2 separate regions of the Homo sapiens genome follow, and region 2 is linked to region 1. The links are contacts of gene promoters, found by promoter capture Hi-C in blood cells and fetal thymus (Javierre and others, 2016). All regions are on one chromosome and are shown on one strand. Each heading gives the region's core, a stretch centred on a gene start or on the middle of the fragment in contact. The rest is flanking DNA. Distances are from core to core; before and after follow the strand shown. Region 1 holds the start of DAGLA (diacylglycerol lipase alpha). Region 2 has its middle 18 kb from the start of INCENP.

Region 1 (3,336 bases), core at 705-3,204:
GTGCAATGGCACGATCTCGGCTCACTGCAACCTCTGCCTCCCACGTTCAAGTGATTCTTCCGCCTCAGCCTCCCGAGTAGCTGGGATTACAGGCACCTGCCATCATGCCAGGCTAATTTTTGTACTTTGGTAGAGATAGGGTTTCACCATGTTGGCCAGACTGGTCTCGAACTCCTGACCTCAGGTGATCCACCTGCCTCTGCCTCCCAAAGTGCTGGGATTACAGGCATGAGCCACCGCCCCTGGCCGACAGTCTTTGGACTGGCTGTTCAGGTCATGATTCTCCTCCTCTGGGAGTGTCTCTCAACGGGGAAAAGTGGACTGACATGTTTGTATCACAAAGCACTTTCTGCCCTGGCCATAGCTGATTGACCGTGGCCTGATCTGGACTAATAAGATTCTTTTTTTCTGGGAATCGGGAACTTTGAACCAAGAGACATCCAATCTGGCAGTTTTGATTCTGATTAATGGCAATGATCTAGAAAGAAGATCCCTAAACTGATACTGCTACAGTTGTCCCTTAAAGCCTCCCCTGATCTCTGCCCTTCCTGAGCCTTGAGGAATTCAACTCCTCCTTGAATCCCCTGAGGTGCCCCACTGGGTATATGCGCCCACTCCTCATTTTCCTTGTTACCTACGTGAGTTTGCTTTCTAAATAATCACAGGTAACACAGAACTCCTTCCAGAAGTGGCTCCATCTGCTTCAATAAAAGGCAGTCCTGGCCTCACAGTCTCATTTCCAACCCAAATGTCCACGTAATTTTCAGACCGAGGCTTCTGCTCAAGCCGGGCACCCCACTACCCACACCTCCTTGTTCACCTATGGCTCCCACTTCTACTGAACTGCGCGATCACTGTGATTTTGGGGGTGGCAACAGGGCCTAGGAAACATTTTAGAGGCACTTCTCTTGCCTGAAAGAAAACGTTCTTCCCCTTTTTGTCTCTGATGAATCTTTACTGGATCTTTGGGACCCAGCTGAGTCATCCCGACCTGCAGACTGGACTCCCATCCCCAGGCTTAAATTCCTTTCCAAGGGCTCTGTCTGTCCTCTCGGCTTAGCTTCTGTGTTAAAACCCCCTCCATCTGCGTCTCCTCCCCAGCAGAATGAGCTCCTTGAAGTCAGGGCCCGCCTTCTGCTCCTCTCTGTGCTCCACTCCCCCAGTTCAGCACAGTGCTCCCAGGGAGGTGTAAGCGACTTACGGTGAATGAAAGGGCGTGAAGGGGAACAGGAGGGGCGGTTTTCTTCATTTACCAGAAATTCAAAATTGACCAAGTAAACCCCTTTGGAGACCAGGCACGATGCTGGGCACTGGGAACGGGGGTAGGGGTGGGGGGTGGGGGGGTGGTAGGGAGGAGGGGGTACCCAGGGTACCCACGGGCTCTGTCGCCCGTGGGGAAGGATGGGCATTTACCCTTCCCATTCATCAGGATGGGAGGGCCACGGACTCCCCCCACGGCAGTGCCGGGTAGACCCCTGCACCACACCGTGCCAAGGCCCTTTCTCACAGTCACGCCAGGAACTCTAGCCATGCTCTGACTTCTCAAGCAGAGTTCAGTCACCCCGAGGAGGTGGGACCCGTCTCTCTCCTCCCCACAAATGAACCAGTTCTCCAGTGATCCTACTTCCTTTTTTCCCTCTCCCACGCTAAAACTGGTCACGAGGGACCTAAAGGAGGGGCAGGCACCCAGGCGGCTCCCTTCCCCGCACGCATCGCGGCCAGTCCAGCCCCTCCCGGCCGCCCACGGGACCCCAGCCGAGCCTGAGCCAGGCGCCCACCGCCCCCACGCGCAGGGCCGGCGCCCGCGGAAGACTCGGCTCTCCCTGGCCTCGACGCCGCTCCCCTCCCTGGCGCCAGGGGGCGCTGCCTCCCCACGACCGTCGCCATGGTCACCGCTGGCGGCGGAGAGGGGTTTACGTAAAGGACGCAGCGTCCCCCGGGGGGCGGAGGCGGCCTTCGCGCCGGCGCCGGCGCCCTGCGGAAGCGGCGTTAGTGAATCGGGGCCTTGGGGAGCCCAGGATGGAGGTGGCGGTCGCGGCGGCGGGCCGAGCCCTGCGGCGGGCGGGAGGTAAGGGGGGCCTCCGGCGCGGCGGGCCGGTCCTGGGCGCGGGCGCGGTGCGAGCGGCGCGGCGGGCTGGGCAGTGTCCAGGGCGCGCGGTGGCCGGCCCGACGGGTCGGCGGGCGGAGTTGCAGCTGCCACGCGCGCCCGTGGCAGGTGTGAGGTCTGTGGAGCCCCTGGCACCAGCGTGGGGATGGTGACACGCGTGGCACGGGCGTGGGCAACGTGGGTCCGGCACAGGCGGCGTGGTTTTCCTGGAACGGGTCTCAGAAGACTCGCCTCCACCTTGGTGCGGTGGTGGCCACGCAGGTGTGAGGTGGTGCAGCTGTCTGCACAGGTAGGTGATGGGCACGGCCTTCGGACTGGTTATGGGATAGGTGGCCAGCTCGTGCCGGCATGGTGGTGCCGCTAGCATGGGTGTGAGGAAGTGCTGCCATTGCTTGGGTGTTGGGATGGTTCTGGCCTTGGGCTTGACATGATCTGGGGTGATAGCACTGGGGGCTTGAAGAATTGGTGTTCTCAGCATGGCTAGAGTTCCTGGCATGACTGTGAGAAAGGGCCTTGGCACGGTGTGGTGCGGGGGGCTACCCGGCACTGCCGCGGGGGGAGTCCGTGGCCCTCCCATCCTGATGAATGGGAAGGGTAAATGCCCATCCTTCCTCACGGGCGATGAAGGGGACACTGCCTCTGTCATGGGGGTCCAGTTTTAATGCCTGTTGGGTACACTGGACTGAGGAGGGCAGAAGGCTGGGAGAAGGTTGGTGTCCTTTATAATGGGCATAAACAAGAGATGCCAGGAGAAGCTTCTACCACAAGGGCCCTGATGGTAACCCAGATAGAGACCTTCCAGGCACTACCGTTGTCCTGGGCTAAGGTAGAGAGAACCATTCATCTAGCTTTTCATCTAGCTTTGGGAATGAAGGGAGGGGTGGATGATTTTCAGTGGTGATCGGTGTCCCAGAATATGTCCTGAGAAGCAAGCAGGACCAAGAGGTAACCCGGGTCAGCGAGTGAGGGAGTGGTATGGCGCACCATCTATCTGTAGTCACGGGGTCCTGCCTTCTCCCTGGGTTGATGGGTTCACTCCAGGGTATCTGGGAGTTGCCTCTCTTCTTTGATGCTGGGGAGCCTTTGGGTCCAGAGGATTGGATCGATTGGGGTATGCTTGAAAGATGATTCTGCAGCCACTGGGAATCTGCTGGGGCCACCGGGACTCCCACCCCCAGGCTTAAATTCCTTTCCAAGGGCTCTGTCTGTCCTCTCTGCTTAGCTCCTAT
Region 2 (3,321 bases), core at 820-3,319, 430 kb after region 1:
TAAGGAAAACACTGATCGTGAGTGATTCACTACATCTCCAGCCCCTCTCCCTCCCCTGAAAGTCATGGGGTGGAACTGAAAGCTTTAACCCTTTAATCACGTCTTGATCTTCCTAGTGATGGTATGATGTGGCTGTGTCCCCACCCAAATTTCATCTTGAATTGTAGTTTCCACAATCCCCACATGTCATGGGAGGGACCTGGTGGGAGATAATTTAATCCTGGTGGTGGTTACCCTCATGCTGTTCTCGCAATAGTGAGTTCTCACGAGCTCTGATGGTTTTATGAGGGGCTTCCCTCCCACCCCCTCGCTCTCATTCTTCTCCTTCCTGCCGCCATGTGAAGAAGGATGTGTTTGCTTCCCCTTCTGCCGTGACTATAAGTTTCATGAGGCCTCCCCAGCCCTGTGGAACTGTGAGTCGATTAAACCTCTTTCCTTTAGGCCAGGCATGGGGGCCGAGGCAGATGGATCACTTGAGGTCAGGAGTTCAAAACCAGCCTGGCCAACATGGCGAAACTCTGTCTCTACTAAAAATACAAAAAAATTAGCCAGGCATGGTGGCAGGTGCCTGTAATCCAGGCTACCTGGGAGGCTGAGGCAGGAGAATTGCTTGAACCTGGGAGGCAGAGGTTGCAGTGAGCCGAGATCGTACCACTGCACTCCAGCCTGGGTAAGAGAGGGAGACTCCATCTCAAAAACAAACAAACAAAAACCACCAGCAACAACAACAACAAAACACCTCTTTCCTTTATATAAGTTACCCAGTCTCAGGTATTTCTTCATAGCAGTGTGGGAATGAACTAATACAGGTGACTACTCACATGTGGCAAATGCAGACAAGGGCACTCTGTGCTATTGGGATGCTGAGGTGGGGGTGTGATAGGAGTTTGGCAGGACTTGTTTCCCAAGACATAGGTCACAAGGACCCCCCTGATAAAACAGGATGTGGTAAAGGAGCCAGCCAAAACCCCCCAAAACCAAGATGGTGATGAAAGCGACCCTTGGTCCTCTCACCGCTCATTATACACTAATCATAATCCATGATTTGTCCATGGTGAAGGAAACTCCCACCAGAAACACGACAGCTTACATACGCCATGGCAACATCCGGAAGTTACCCTATATGGTCTAAAAAGGGGAGGAACTCTCATTTCTGGGAATTCTCTGACCTTTTCCTGGAAAATTCATGAATAAGCCACCCTTGTTTAGCATGTGAGCAAGAAACAAACATAAAAATAGCAACCTGCAACTCTCACGGCTGCTCTTCCGATGGCATAGCCACTCTTACTCCTTTACTTTTAAAATAAACTTGCTTTCACTTTACTCTGTTAACTCTTGAATTCCTTCCTGTGCAAAGCCAAGAACTCACGTCGCCTCCTGGGCTGAACTCCAATGTGGGGGTTCACCCTGTGACAGGTGGATGGGCTGGAGTCCAGGAGTTCGGGTCCAGCCTAAGCAACATAGTGAGACCCCCCATCTCTATTTTTTTCTCAGACAGTATAAGAGACAGATGAAGCAAAGTGCATAAATGGCTGTGAGGAGCATGTGGTTTGTCAAAGCTGGAACTTTATTTACAAACAAGTTCCAGCATTATCTGAGTGGGTGCTGCTAACAATTATAGCGTGTTCTTTCAAACTGCAGACTGGGATTAGACGGTTTGCCAAAAAGCCACTGAGTACATCAAAGCGAGAATTCTGAATTCTCCATTTATCTTCAGATTTATCACTCCCTCCCTCTGTGCCCTTCTCTGCATCTGCTGTATGTGAGTATGGAGAGTCCACACAATTCAGTCTGTACCAGTGGTCTAGGTTTTCAACTACATCTCATTGGTCAAGCATGTTTGCATTCACAGAAGGAACCCTACCCCCATTTTTGTTTTCCTGTTTTATTTTTAGTACATTTTAGGCCTTAAGAATGTAGGGTTTTTTTGTTTGTTTTTTTTTCCTATGAGACGGGAGTCTTGCTCCATAACCCAGGCTGGAATGCAGTGGCATGATCTCGGCTCACTGCAACCTCCCCGTCCCGGGTTCAAGCGATTCTCCTGCCTCAGCCTCCCATGTAGCTAGGAATACAGGCATGCACCACCATGCCTGGCTAATTTTTTTTTTAATTTTTTTTTTAATTTTTAGTAGAGACGGGGTTTCACCATGTTGGCCAGACTTGTTTTGAACTCCTGACCTCAGGTGATCCGCCCACCTTGGCCTCTCAAAATGCTGGGATTACAGGCATGAACAACCATGCCTCACCAATAGTGTTTTATCATACAGAAATAGAAATTACAAATCTCTCAGGAAGTTCTTTGGAAGTGCAGCTTTAAAGACATACTTTTTGACCCCCACTGTTTTCTTTTGCCCAGCTTGGATATGTGTTCTGCCTTCATTGTCTCTTCAAGGAGGCATTCACAGGCAGCAGAGCTCTTTTGTGGAGGAACTTTTATAACATTGTCAGTTGCTTTAAGCAGACGTTCTCAAGGCTGATCTGTAGGCTGGATCCAGTGGCTGACAAGGATTTTACTGATTTGTACAATACGAGAAAAATAAGAACAATGCAATGAGTTTTTCATAAAGGAATTTTTTTTTTTTTGAGATGGAGTTTCACTCTTGTCGCCCAGGCTGGAGTGCAGTGGTGCAATCTTGGCTCACTGCAAACTCTACCTCCTGGGTTCAAGTGATTCTCCTGCCTCAGCCTCCTGAGTAGCTGGGATTATGGGTGCCCACCACCATGCCTAGCTAATTTTTGTATTTTTAGTATTGATAGGGTTTCACCATGTTGGCCAGGCTGGTCTCTAATTCCTGACGTCAGGTGATCCGCCCGCCTCGGCCTCCCAAAGTGCTGGGATTACAGGTGTGAACCACCGTGCCTGGCCTCATAAAGGAATTTATTTGTGTCACTTTGACGTATTCTGAGATTGCATGCCCTCTTCTTTTTGAGTTTAAATGTCTTTTATAATAGTAGGATAATAAGAGATAGGTGTTAAAAAAAAACCCATACATATTTACTTAATAAAATTAACTCAATGCTTAAACGTATTTGCAAATTTTGCTACTCTGTGAAATCCAAAAGTCCAGAGAACTACCATTTTAATGAATGCAACTTGAGATTTAATGTGATACAATGGATTTAATAAGATTTAATTAAATTCCATTCTGATGAGAAAGTTTTAGATAATCCAGCTCTCCATATTCAGAAAAGTCAACCTACCAGCCCAATTTAATGCTTAGATCCACCACAGGGAAGCAGAAATCAGTCTGGATAATGAAGACCAGAGAGCCAGACTCTTAGACCTAAAGGAACTTCAGAGATCACGTCTCATCATACAGC

The links. Contacts are between HindIII fragments. The CHiCAGO score rates a contact against its expected background, and 5 or more counts as called.
Region 2: a fragment that was not itself captured here is called in contact with the fragment with the promoter of DAGLA in region 1 in 5 of 17 cell types (activated CD4 T cells, non-activated CD4 T cells, naive CD8 T cells and 2 more); the score reaches 6.8 in activated CD4 T cells.

Annotation. Positions count from the first base shown.
Region 1 is chr11:61,678,437-61,681,772 of GRCh38, forward strand. It overlaps DAGLA (diacylglycerol lipase alpha), which reads left to right and starts at 1,955. Exons shown (of 20, transcript NM_006133.3): 1 at 1,955-2,068. The HindIII fragment of the contact is 3,213 bases long and covers 1-2,860 here.
Region 2 is chr11:62,104,173-62,107,493 of GRCh38, forward strand. No RefSeq gene overlaps it. Among named protein-coding and RNA genes, the nearest start is that of INCENP, 18 kb to the right of the region's middle. The HindIII fragment of the contact is 3,979 bases long and covers 81-3,321 here.